2 separate regions of the Homo sapiens genome follow, and region 2 is linked to region 1. Evidence: promoter capture Hi-C in human tissues and cell types (Jung and others, 2019). All regions are on one chromosome and are shown on one strand. The core of a region is centred on a gene start or on the middle of the fragment in contact, and the rest is flanking DNA. Distances in the headings are between cores, read along the strand shown.

Region 1 (6,839 bases), core at 1,820-4,319:
TTTCACATCTAGCTCTAAAAGTCGTAACATATTTCTTGCTTTTTTTCATTTTTATTTCACTCTAAATTCTCATTCTTGGATTTAATATTTTTTTTCACCTTCTTTCAGTTAAAATATATCAGAAGTTTAAAATCTTGTAAGTATGTACATAATGGCATATCAGATAGGGCGGCATGCATGAGAGTGAAAAAGAGAACAATCCTCAGGGAAAGGTGCTCAGATATAGCAAAATGCTGCCAGCAATACCTTAAGAAATGTGAAATGAGTGAGAAATCATTTTATACATTTTAAAACAGGAGCAATCCATTCCATGACAAATATATGGGTACCTCAATGAAATAATATTCTCTATACTGAGGATGCAGCTTCAGCGTAATAAACTATGATTTAATAAACTATGCTGAGAGTTTCAGTTGTGTATAACATTAGTTATAAAGCCACACATTCTTCTCAATATTCTTATTTATGTGCATTTACATACTATCGAATGCCATAGTTATATAATTACTTAAAAAGATTACTCAATGATGTGATCTGAGCCATAATCTGAAACTCAAATTTCTACTGCCGAATATTAGAGGAAGATTAAAATAAAAATTAGTCTCACCAGAGAACTAATAAAAATACTATTAGAAATTCCCCAACAGAGGTGTAATTTCTGGTTTCACATTAAGGAAAAGAATTATTCCCACTTTTGAGTTAAGACATATTTCATCCAAATGTTAACCTACAAATGATAAGTCCATCTGAGGCCATTGATAACCACTATAGGAACTTTTAGAAATAAAGTTTTCACATCTCTTTTTCAAATATCAATAATAAAAGGAATTTCTCCTGGGTTTGTTTTTTGAATGCTTGATTACAGAAAAAGTATAGAAAAAAATTATTGTACCACTCAGGTGCAACGAATTTTTATGAAGAAAAAGTAGTCTATGAATCAATTTAATTAGTCGTAAGTGTAAACTTGATGTCTTGTCTCTCTGAAGTACAAATGAATAAAAATTCCTGAATTAAAATCCTTTAAACATTATCTTCTAAATTAGCATTTTAAAATTAATTCCTAAATAGCTAATCTGATCCGATTATCTCATCTACAGGGAAGATAAACTTAAATCCCAGGGTTATAAACAAACAGCTACTCTCCAATGATACTTTCAAAGATATTGAGAGAGATAAATACGCTTACTTCATAACTCAAAGTAAAATTTAATTTTTAACCATAAAATAAGTAGTCCTTCCTAAAACTATATTAAGAGGCTTACATATTGTTACTTCTTCAACACAAACTGTCTAAGCTTGTATTAGCTATGTACCCTATGTTGTAATTACAGTCCTGGAAATTAGCAACATACAGTGAATGAAACTCACATGTTCCATAAAAATGAAATGATTTGGCTTGAAATATTACTGACTACATAAAGGCAACTATAGTCATTCCATAAATCCAGCCTACTACCCAGGTAAGCCTTATAACAGTATCTACTAGTATAAAACTGCAAAACCAAGTGTTCATTTAAGCTTTTATAACAGGAAAGCGTTTAATTCTGTCATATATGTCTTGCTGTCTTCCTACTCATGTTTCTAAACTTTTCTAAAATGTAAAATAAATATATAGTATATGCACACAGCAATATCCAGCTTTAAATTTAACTGCAAAGACATTTATGCAGAAAATAACAGTGGAACACCTGATTTGGGGGTAAAAGGTGCTGCAGGGGAAAGAGAATGGGGTATGGCATTATATGAAAACACTCTATTTCAGCGTCAGCCCACATACAGAATTCCAAAGAGCCAAGGAGCATCCAAATTGCCGTAGTAAAGGCAAATATTTAGATTCACAAAGTCCAGACTGAATTATCACATATCTAGAAACATACTTTTTAAAGAAATCAGGGATTAAAAACTAAGAAGAGCGTAAAATCCTTTAGAACCGCGAGATACTTTGAGGGTAAACCCTAGCACTTCCTTTCGTACTTTTAAATAAAAATATTTTAGTAGACTCTCAAGAATACACAATACAAAACGATGAATCTTGAAAACATGCAAATGGGTCTAACAGCCACCGAGCACAGGATGATGTCTTTCTAAAGCAGCCTTAATTTCCTTAAGGGAAGATGGATTGGACATTTCTGGTTGGTCGTGGGGGAAAAAAGCCACAAGAAGCCACGCTTTATCTTCATTAGAAATGGTAAAGGGCAAAAAGATCAAAACATTATGAGAGAGATCGGAGAAAAGAGGGGGAGAAGTGGGGTGGGCGGGAAGGGGGAGAGGACAGAGGGAATCCAGTTTCAAACCAGGCCAGTGGGGGCTGCAGAGAAGAGACCAGAGAAAAATGGGCTTCGGTTCCAAACTGTGACAAGCGCCAGGCATCACAAAAGACCAATACAACACACACCCCTCACCAGGACACACACAAATATACCCCACAAGGTCTTCTCCGGGCGGGCCACCGGGGTGCGGCGGCGAAGGAGCCAAACCCGGCACTCGCCAGGAGACACACCATGTGCAGCAATTATGCAATTAGGGAAAATAGCAAAAGATCAAGCCGGGCACTTTCCACCGTGACATTTATCCTGTACTTTTGAAAAGACTTAGTTCCAGGATGCGGCTAGGAGAAGGAAAGCGCTGGGAGGGTTGAGAAGGATGGGGAACTGAGAACGGAAGGGGGTAGAAGGAGGACAGGGAGAGAAGAGGCAGAAGGGGGGGATGGGAAGAAGGGGGAGGGGTAGAAAGGGCGAGAAACGGGGGCAGGAGGCTCGCGGGAGGGGGCGTAGGGAACCGGGCACGGGGAGCGAGGAAGGAGGGAACTAGGGCACGAGCGGTGTAAGCAGAGACCTGCGACGCGGAGGGGAGGTCGGGGGAGTGAGGAGGACGTCAGCGAGAGGGAGGACGCCCGAGGAGGGGAGGCACCGGCGCGGCCCGAGCGAATACCTGAGGGGGGGGTGTCCGTGCAGGTCGCAGGCTCGAGCCGAAGCCCTGGGAGAGAGCTGCCCAGGCGCGAGGGGGAGGGAGACTGGGGAGGCCCCAGGGACGGGATGTCCCCTGCGGACCGTCTAGTCACCGAAAGCCGGACCCACGCACCACGCACCCGACCACGCCTGTCCCCGCCGCGCTCGCGCCCGCCCGGACTCACCCTCAGCGCCGCCGCTGCCGCCGCCCCCGGCCGTTCCAGCTCCGGCTCCTGAGGCTGCTGCCCGCGGCTGTCGCTGTGGCTGCCCCTGAGTCCTGGAAAGTGAAGCCACCACCTCCGGGAGCCGCCGCCGCCCGGCCGTCCGCGCGCGCACCCGCGAGTGCGCGTGCCTGCGCGCCCGCCCGGGAGAGACCGCGAGAGCGCGAGCCCCACGTCGGCCATGCGGCGCCGCGCGCCTCCCTCCTCCCCCCGCCCCTCCTCCTCCGGCGCGCGGCCGCGAGGGGGCGGGGGCGGGAGCGCGCCCGGGCGGGCTGCCCCGCCGGTCGGGAGAGGGGGTGGGGAGGCGGCGAGGAAAAGTAAAGTGACAGCTGGGTCCCGCGCGCAGACTGGGCTCTGACGGGGGTGAGCGAGGGGCGTCCCACGGGGAAGGAACGACAAGGACGGGGAGAAGTGGGGGAAACCGAGGCTGACGGGGTGGCTTGAGGGGAGGGGACGCGAGGACCTTGCCGGGCACGCGCATTAAAGGGAAACGCCGGCTGGGGGTTAGGGGTTACCCCAAGACGGTGCAGGCAGTGGGACGAGGAGGCCTTTTACCCCCATCCACCGCAGCCCTTGACTTCACGCTCGCCTCGAAGCTTTCGCAAAGTAGATACGGGGACTGACCCTGTTGACACACTAACCCAAACTCGCAGACGCGTGGGGCTCGCATGTACCCAAGACAGGAAAACTTCACGTTGGCCTGGAAACTTCTTCCAGGCTAAGCCTGAGTCTTCACCAGACACTGCAGCACGAAGGCCCTTCTGCCTTTTGGCTCGCCCTGGCCCAGAATGCGCACCAGCCGGTAGAGAGGAGCTTCGGGCCGTTTAGCCCTGGGGTATTGAAGAGAGGGGTGGGGGTACAGGGTGCACCACTGTCAGAGTGAGTGGGAAGCTGCCTTCATGCCCAGTTGAAGGATATGGGAACAGTAGCAGTGCTGTAGGTGGCATGAGGGAACATTAGGTTCCGTTGTACTCCTCATCCCAAATAACCGTTTAAAAAAAAAAAAAAAACGTACCTGCTTTGCGAACTTAGCTTCCACGAAATTTCTCCCACTCCAACCTCCAGCCTCACTTACCAACGGAATGCTGGGTCGTTGGCAACGGGGTGTCCAGGGATGCAGCAAAATTAACTTCTATCTTTGTGGAGGAAAGGATTGGAAGATCTTTCACTGCTTAATTGCTGAAATTATGGTTGCTACAGTACTTCATTTGACTGTAGATGTTTTAACTGCTATTTACTAAGTTCAAAATGGGTTTAATACAAATCAGTTACCCTTTTCATTTATTCAAGGAATATTTATTGATACCAGGCACTGTCTAGGTGGTAGATATATGACATTGAATAAAAGAAAAAAATCCTTGTCCTCAGAACTTCCCTATGTCTGAACCTTCTCTGTTGTACACTCAGCATCACATTCGTCAGCAAATTCTGTTGACTCTGTTTTCACAAATATATGGTGAAAATGTCCACTCCGTCTCACTCCCCTCCCCACTGCTAATGTCCTGGTCTAAGGCATCATCTCTCAATAATTATCTCCTACCTGATCTTTCTACCTCCCACTCTCCGCCTCCTCCCTCCCCAACACCTACACACAGCCGACTGTCCTTTAAAACAAAGATTAGATTATGTCTCTCTTCTTCTCAAAAATTCCAGTGGCTTCCCATCATAGAGCAACAGCCAAAGTGCAAAATATGGATACATGGCCTGCATGATGTGCCCACCATTCCCAGCCAGGATTCCCCTGACCTCAAGCTGTACGATTTCACTCCATCCTCGTCTCCTTCCAGCCACACCGGCCTTGCAGTTATGGACACACCAAGCATTCCTCAGCCTCAAGACCTGTGTACTTACTATTTCCTATCTCTAGAACATTCTTTCCTCCCACTCCTCCCCCAGAACTTCCTATCCACATCCTCTGCTTTTTCTCCATGATCACCACCTGACATAATACATTTTTTTACTTATTTATTAGTTTCCCCCTTCTGCTTTCTTTTTCCTCCCTCTCCCAGCCCTCCCACGTAAAAGCACCTTGAGAAAAAGGATTTCGTCGTCTGGGGTTCAGTGCTGTATATATTCAATAGATAATGACCGAGTGAAAGAAATTGGTCTCTTTCAGTTGATGACACAATAGGTATTGTTTCTAATTTCTTCAATAATTAGTACTTACCGTGTTCTTAATTTGTGCTAGGCAGCATGCTAAGCACTTTAGTTATACTAGGTCACAACCACCACACAGGTTGGTTTTATCCAATCAGCCCCACTGTACAGATGAGAATACTGAGGTACGGAGGGATTAAGTCACTCACCTACAGTCACATAGCTAGTGAGGAGCAGAGCTGGGACTCGAAATCAGCAGTTTGGCTCTGGAGTCTGTGAACTTAAGGACACTTTACCATGAGTCTGGTGTTACAGACATAAATATTTATTTGATTTTCTCTATTTCTCTCTTCTGCGGTGCAAACTTGGTCTCCAAGACAAATAGCTCATCTTCCTTATATTTTCTGCTCTGGTCCATCAGTCTGTCGTCATGAACTCACTCCTTTCTTACATTTCTTATTTCTGATCATTAATTTAGAGCCTACGTTTTTTCCCCCTGCAACTGGCAAATTGGAATGTTTTTTGAAGGGTCCTTCTTAAAACGTTGTTACTGCCAACTTCGTGAGTAAGTAGAGCCACAGTTAGTTTTCCAGTTTGACTGGATGGGTGATAGAAAAGACCTCTCTCAGGGGAACTGGGCTGAATTTGAGCAGAAGCATTATACTGGTAGAGCCCTGCTACTTATTTAGGCAACTTCTGTTCTTGTTAGGCACCCAATTATCAGGGGTTATTACATATTTATATTATACCCTTTGAAAGAAACATCATATTAGCTCAGGTTTTCCAAAGAATGGGATAGAAAACAATGATCTGTTGCATACTGTCTGGCTTGAAGGAGGCTGTAGTCACCCCGAATGTTTTGGATACTTAAGGGCAACAGTGGTGTAGGAAAATTGAAACTCCAATAGAACTGCAACCCCATTACCTACCTAGTTCAGTACCAACGCAAAGGTACGACCAGGTGCTTTAAAAAAATGTTTGTTTCATAAATAAATAAATGAAATTCTAGCAGGGAATAGAAGTGTACTGAGGACAAATTCCCCTGACTTCCCCATTTGTTCAGGAACTGCTACCTGGACCACTATGTATGATCGTGTATTTTGTACACTGCAAAGTATCAGGGGGTGCCATTCATGTAAATTAAGATGCAAACATAGAAGTGTGGCTGCTCCTCTCACCCCTAGACGTTGCCTGAGTATGGTAATCAGTCTCTAAGATGTCCCACTGATCCCTGCCTCTTGGTATTCACACCCTTGTGTAATCCCCTCCTACGTCATGCTAGGGTTGGTGTAATGCTGTGAGAAAGGAGGGTATGTCACTTCCAAGATTAGTTTAGGGCTTCCATCTTGGTTGCGCACACACTGATGCTCTCTCTCTCTCTTTGCTGTCACTGACTCTGGGGAAAGCTAGCTGCCATATTGTGAGCAGCCCTGTGGAGAGGCCCATGTGACTAAAAAATAAGACCCGCTAACATCCACATGTGTAAGCTTTAAAGCAGATCCTTCAGCCTTAGCTAAGCCTTCAGATAATGAAGCCCTGATCAACATCTTAACTGCAAACTCTTGAAAGTCCT
Region 2 (6,839 bases), core at 2,975-5,474, 570 kb before region 1:
TTCTCCTACTTTACTTAGCCTCTCGAGTAGCTGGGATTACAGACACATGCCACCACACCCAGCTAATTTTTGTATTTTTAGTAGAGACGGGGTTTCACCATATTGGCCAAGCTGGTCTCAAACTCCTGACTTCAGGTGATCCCCCCGCCTTGGCATCCCAAAGTGTTGGGATTACAGGCATAAGCCGCCGCACCCAGCCCCCATGTAATTTATTGCATAGTGTATTGAAAGTGAAAAACAGAATGGTTGTATGGGTATTTGAAGTTTCTACTGAATGCTTATTGTTTTCACACCATCCTGAAGTCAAAAAATCCAGTAAGTGGACCGTGCCTGGTGGCTCACACCTATAATCTCAGCACTTGGGGAGGCTGAGGCAGAAGGAATACTTGAGCCCAGGAGTTTGAGACTGGTCTGGGCAACATAGTGAGATCCTGTCTCTACAAAAAATAAAAATAGGTAAGCATGGTGATATGTGTCTGCAGTCCCAGCTACACAGGATGCTGAGGTTGGAGGATTGCTTGAGCCCAGGCAGTCAAGGCTACAGTGAACCATGATCATGTCATTGTATTCCAGCCTGGGGGACAGAGTGAGACCCTGTCTCAAAAAAAAAAAAAAAAGTGGAATCATTATAAGTCAGGGACCATCTGCATATATTTTATCATATGAAAGGGAACTGGAACTCAACATGCCTTAAAATTTTGTATATAGAGTTATTTATATATAATTGTTTCTGGATGGGATTTATGAGTAATTTTTTTCTTTTAATGTGCTACAGTCTACATTTTCTATGATAAACATGCATTACTTAAGCAAAACAAAATGATGACTTTTTTTCTGGAGACAGACAAGATCTCGCTGTGTCACCCAAACTGGAATACAGTGGAACAATCATGGAACAATCATAGCTCACTGCAGCCCCAAACACCTAGCCTCCAGCAATCCCCTCACCTCAGCCTCCTGAGTAGCTGGGATTATAGGCACGAGCCACCATGCCTAGCTCAATAATTACTATTTTTAAAAAAACAACATCACAACTAACAGATCTAGAAATGTAACCAGGCCGTAGGAGTGCCAAAGGCTTATTTTTTTTAATGAAGTATTAAAATTTTTTATTTTATCTAAAAAAAAAAAAAAAATGTAACCAGGCCTGAGAAAGCAGGTTGAGAGCAAAGAAGAAGCATTTTTTTTTTTTTTTCAGTTTAAAAAGCAATGACGGCTGGGCTTGGTGGCTCACACTTGTAATCCCAGCACTTTGGGAGGCTGAGGTGGGTGGATCACAAGGTCAGGGGTTTGAGACCAGCCTGGCCAACACAGTGAAACCCTGTCTCTACTAAAACTATGAAAATTAGCTGTCCATGGGGGTGGGTGCCTGTAATCCCAGCTACTCAGGAGGCTGAGGCAGGAGAATCGCTTGAAACCGGAAGGTGGAGATTGCAGTGAGCTGAGATCGTACCACTGCACTCCAGCCTGGGCAACAAGAGCGAAACTCCATCTCAAAAAAAAAAAGCAATGACTTGGCTGGTCGCAGCTGCTCACACCTGTAATCTCAGCACTTTGGGAGGCCGAGGCAGGTGGATCACTTGAGGCCAGGAGTTCAAGAACAGACTGGCCAACCTGGTGAAACCCCGTCTCTACTAAAAATACAAAAAATTAGCCGGGTGTGGTGGCGTGTGCCTGTAGTACCAGCTACTCCGGAGGCTGAGGCAGGAGAATCGCTTGAACCCGGGAGGCAGGGGTTGCAGTGAACCAAGATTGCGCCACTGCACTCCAGCCTGGACGACAGAGCAAGACTCCATCTCAAAAAAAAAAAGCAATGGCTTAAAATACCCACTGACCACCCTCCTCTGGGCTGCCTGCTCTTGTGTCTTCATCAGGTATGTGGTGGTGAGGATGCAGTTCTCTTCTAGATAAGGCACTGAAACGATGATGGTGCAGTGCATTTATTAGAAACTGCTGCAAAATTGTTAGAAACTGAGGCTATAATCTTTTCAAATATCTGAGATTTTACACATATATATGTTATTCTTTAATTCTACATTGTATTTTTACCATTTTCCCAGCACTCAAAATTAATAAAGCAACACAGTATGATAAATACTTAGGAGTTGCACAAGAAATGTATTTTTGTCAGTATGCTTCCCCCCCTCCTTTTGACAATTCACACTGGGGACAATAAAGATTAATCACACAAGGGAAAGTGAATAAGTGAAAACAAGTCCATTGGCAGTCACATAACAGCAGCTTAACTGTGCCTCCAGGTTGGGTACTTATTTATCATTACTCTCTCAGTATCCCTTTTAATTCAAGTTTTATTCCAACAATTCAAGAATCAGTCTATTAAAAATATTAAACTATAAAAAAAGCAATTATTATGCCAAAGGCACAAAATATTGAAATAGGTTTTACAACAAAAGTCTGTGCATGAGCCTATGTGTTATTATTTCAGCTCTTTGCTCAATCCAGTGGAATATTCTACACTCATTAGCTCTAGTGTTTATGAGAGTTTAACAACTGCTTGGTTTTCACGGCCAACATGATTATGCTCTGTCTTTGGTTCTCATACAGCTCTCTTTTGCATTCAGCTTACAGAATTTATTTATTTATTTGAGAAGGAGTCTCACTCTGTCACCCAGGCTGGAGTGCAGTGGCGCAATCTTGGCTCACTGCAACCTCTGCCTCCCAGGTTTGAGCAACTCCCCTGTCTCAGCCTCCCGAGTAGCTGGGATTACAGCCACCCACCACCACAGCCGGCTAATTTTTGTATTTTTGGCAGAGACGGGGTTTTGTCATGTTGACCAGGCTGATCTTGAGCTCCTGACCTCAGGTGATCCTCCCGCCTCGGCCTTCCAAAGTGCCAGGATTAGAGGTGTGAGTCCCCTCGCCTGGCCAGAATTGACTTTAAAACATAGCTAATATAAAGAACAGACTTGATACTCCAGAGTTTGGGGGCTTTAGAACCTGGCTCCCTGACAGAGCAATGAGTTCTTTGAAGGCAAGGACTATTCTATGCACTATAGCTTTATGTCCACCCTGGACTAGGTAGAGATTGAATGAATGGCTGAGTGATAAAAATAGCAGCTGGCACCAAAAAAAATGATTTTATGAATTAGTTTTGTTAGACCTTAGAAATAGCATACACTATTTTTTTTCTAATTTTTATTTATTTATTTTTTTTGAGACGGAGTCTCACTCTGTCGCCCAGGCTGGAGTGCGGTGGCGCAATCTCGGCTCACTGCAAGCTCCGCCTCCCAAGCTTACGCCATTCTCCTGCCTCAGCCTCCCGAGTAGCTGGGACTACAGGCGCCCGCCACCACGATCGGCTAATTTTTTTTGGTATTTTTAGTAGAGACGGGGTTTCTCCTTTTTAGCCAGCATACACTATTGTTAAGTACAAAGAGGAAAAAAAGTTTTGCAGTGGAGAAACCTGGCAGACACCACCTAATCCAAGTGATTAAAGTGGACATAATCATTAATGGGACAGATTGATGTGACGCATGAAGAAGGACAGTGTCAATTCCGGGGTATTCCTACAAAAGATGCATAACCTGACTCTACTCATGAGGAAACAGTAGACAGACCCAAAAGAAGAGACAGTTTGCAAAGCAACAGGCCTGTACCCTTCAAAAATGGCAATGTCAGGAAAGAACAAAAAATAAATCAATAAAAAACATTTAAACACTGAGAGGTGCTTCCAGATTAAAGAAGAGGCTTGGCACCTAAATGTATTTTATGATCTTGGATTCTAAATTGGCCAGAAAATTGCTTTAAATAACATCATTGAGAAACTGGCAAAATTTGAATGTGGACTGTAGCTTAAATCATAGTATTGCATGAATGTTCAACTTTCTGAATTTGATCATTTTCCCAGAACCATATGAGATAATGTATTTGTTTTTAGGGTATACATGCTGAAATATTTGGTTGGTATAAATGGTTCAACAAACATAGACTACCACAAGTCTAAGTGCAGTTTTACTTTTTGAGACAGAGTCTCGCTCTGTCACCCAAGCTAGAGTGCAGTGATATTGGCTCACTGCAACCTCCACCTCCCGGGTTCAAGCGATTCTCCTGTCTCAGCCTCCCCAGTAGCTGGGATTACAGGTGCCTGCCACCACGCCCTGCTAATTTTTGTATTTTTAGTAGAGACAGTTTTCACTATGTTGACCAGGCTGGTCTTGAACTCCTGACCTTGTGATTCGCCCGCTTCAGCCTCCCAAAATGCGGGGATTACAGGCATGAGCCACTGTACCCGGCCCTACGTGCAGTTTTAAGAAATTGAGGTGAAATTCACATAAGATAAAATTAATTATTTTATTTTATTTTTTAGAGACAAAGTCTTGCTCTGCCACCCAGGCTAGAGTACAGTGGCATGATCATGGTTTACTGGGACCCTTGTATGTAAAAAGGGGATAATATCTATGTCATACAATAGTTTTGATGGTTGAAAGAGAATATGAATGTGAACTTCAAACTCCTGGGCTCAAGTGATCCTTCTATCTCAGTCTCCTAAGTAACTGGGACTACAGGTGCGTGCCACCACACCTGGCTAATTTTTAAATTTTTATTTTATATAGAGAGGGAGTATTGCTGTGTTGCCTAGGCTGAACTCAAACTCCTGGCCCCAAGCAATCCTCCCACCTTAGCCTCCCAAAGTATTGGGTTATAGGCTTGAGCCACCATGCCTGGTCAGATTCACCATTTTAAAGTGTACAATTCAGTGACCTTTAATACATTCATGGCTGGGCGTGGTGGCTCACGCCTGTAATCCCAGCACTTTGGGAGGCTGAGACGGGCAGATCCCGAGGTCAGGAGATCAAGAGCATCCTGGCTAACAGGGTGAAACCCTGTCTCTACTAAAAATACAAAAACCTAGGCGTGGTGGCAGGCACCTATAGTCCCAGCTACACAGGAGGCTGAGGCAGGAGAATGGCATGAACCCAGGAGGCAGAGCTTGCAATGAGCCAAGATCGCGCCACTGCACGATCTGTGTGACAGAGTGAGAATGCGTCTCAAAAAAAACACAAAAAACAAAAAACATTCACAATGTGGTGCAACTACCACCTCTACGAACTCCAGAAGGAAACCTCAGACCTATTAAACAGTCATGTCCCATTTCCCCTTCCCATGAGTCCCTAGCAACCGCCAAGCTATCTTCTATCTCTATGGATGTACCTATTCTGGGTATTTCATATAAATGGAATCATGCAATATGGGGCCTTTTGTGTCTGGCTTTTTTTACTTAACATGTTTTTGAGTTCCATCCTCACTGTAGCATGCATCAATACTTCATTCCTTTTTATAGTTGAATAATATTTCATTGTACAAATGTACCTATTTTGTTTTTTCATTCATCCGTTGATGGGCACTTGGGTTGTTTCTGCTTTTTGGCTATTATGAACAGTGCTACTATGAACATTCACATACAAGAATTTGTTTGAGCACCTGTTTTTAATTCTTTTGGTATATAGCTAGGAGTGAAATTGCTGTATCATATGGTGAATGTATATTTAACTTTTAAAGAAACTACCAAATTGTTTTCTAAAGTGGCTGCATCATTTTATGGTTTGTACTGTTCTTACAACTCTCCTCAAAGTCTAAAATTATTTCAAAGTAAAAAAAAAAAAAATTAGTATGTGCATACTCAGGCAGAAGGACACCTAAGTGCACAAAAGTAGGGAAGTGATGAGTGAGCTTCATCCAACAGGCCAGACCTGCGTGTGAACTCAGATGGTTAGAATGACTGGCATAGGCAGCTTAATGGAAGTTTCCAGAGTGAAAATTTTTGTAAAGGATGACACAGTTTAAAAGTGCTATTAAAGCACTTCCATAATAAGAAACCCAGCCCTGGGCAGGTGGAGAGAACCCATGTGCCCAGCCTTTCTCTTCCCCTTTGGGGGCATCATTAGCAGCTCTATGGGTGCACAATCCATTTGTTGACTACATGCATGAGTGAGCATGGTCTCCCTTTTATAAATGGGCATCCATGGGAAACTGCAATTTTCCTTACAGAAGTCTGCCTGATTGCTAGTTTTGATGGTTAAAAGAGGATACGAGTGTGAAAGTTCTGCAAAGTCATAAAGCACTGATAGACAATGAATGAGGATTATAACTAAGGCCTCTACATTCGGTTCACACCATTGTTAGTTCCTCTTCCTCCTGAGAATGTGGTCCCCCAACCAGCCACTTGGTACTCCCTGGGAACTTGTGAGAAATGCAGACTCTCAGGCCAGCCTAGAAGTCTGAACCAGAATCTGCATTTCAACAAGATCCCCAGGTGATTGGCAGGCCTATTAAAATTTGGGTAATGCTGCTTTAATGCAGAGATACCTAAACTTTTCTAACTATAACAACCATCTGGGACTACTTATTAAATAATTCCAGTTCTCTTGCTTCCCTTAGTGGAGATTAATTCAATGACTCTATGGTGAGGCCCTGGAATGTGAATTCTCCAGATGAGTCTCCTGATCAGAAAAGTTTGTTAAGCAATACTTCAAATGCGTAGCTTTAAAGGAAAAGGGGATCCTGGTGTGGTGGCACATGCCTGTAATCCCAGTGACTTGGGACGCTGAGGCAGGAGGATCCCTTGAACTCAGGAGTTCGAGGCTGCAGTGAGCTATGATTGCACCACTGCACTCCAGTCTGGGCAACAGATGAAGAAAATCTCTTAAAAAATAAATAAAGTAAAATAAAGACAAATGGGGAGGCCGGGCAAGATGGCTCACGCCTGTAATCCCAGCACTTTGGGAGGCCAAGGCAGGCAGATCACCTGAGGTCAGGAGTTTGAGACCAGCCGGGCCACCATGGTGAAACCCCATCTCTACTAAAAAAAAAAAAGTACA

Evidence for each region. The method cuts DNA at HindIII sites, captures the fragments that hold promoters and counts their contacts. A contact is called where the count stands out against the background at its distance.
Region 2: a fragment that was not itself captured here is called in contact with the fragment with the promoter of UBE2E2 in region 1 in 2 of the 25 tissues and cell types used here (lymphoblastoid cells and spleen).

The regions. Positions count from the first base shown.
Region 1 is chr3:23,199,557-23,206,395 of GRCh38, reverse strand. UBE2E2 (ubiquitin conjugating enzyme E2 E2) reads right to left here and starts at 3,069. Exons shown (of 6, transcript NM_152653.4): 1 at 2,932-3,069. UBE2E2-DT (UBE2E2 divergent transcript) reads left to right here and starts at 3,403. Exons shown (of 2, transcript NR_136176.1): 1 at 3,403-3,532. RefSeq lists a silencer at 2,909-3,598 and enhancers at 3,949-4,008, 3,421-4,396. The HindIII fragment of the contact is 11,420 bases long and covers 1-5,259 here.
Region 2 is chr3:23,767,051-23,773,889 of GRCh38, reverse strand. No RefSeq gene overlaps it. Among named protein-coding and RNA genes, the nearest start is that of UBE2E1, 35 kb to the left of the region's middle. The HindIII fragment of the contact is 6,533 bases long and covers 958-6,839 here.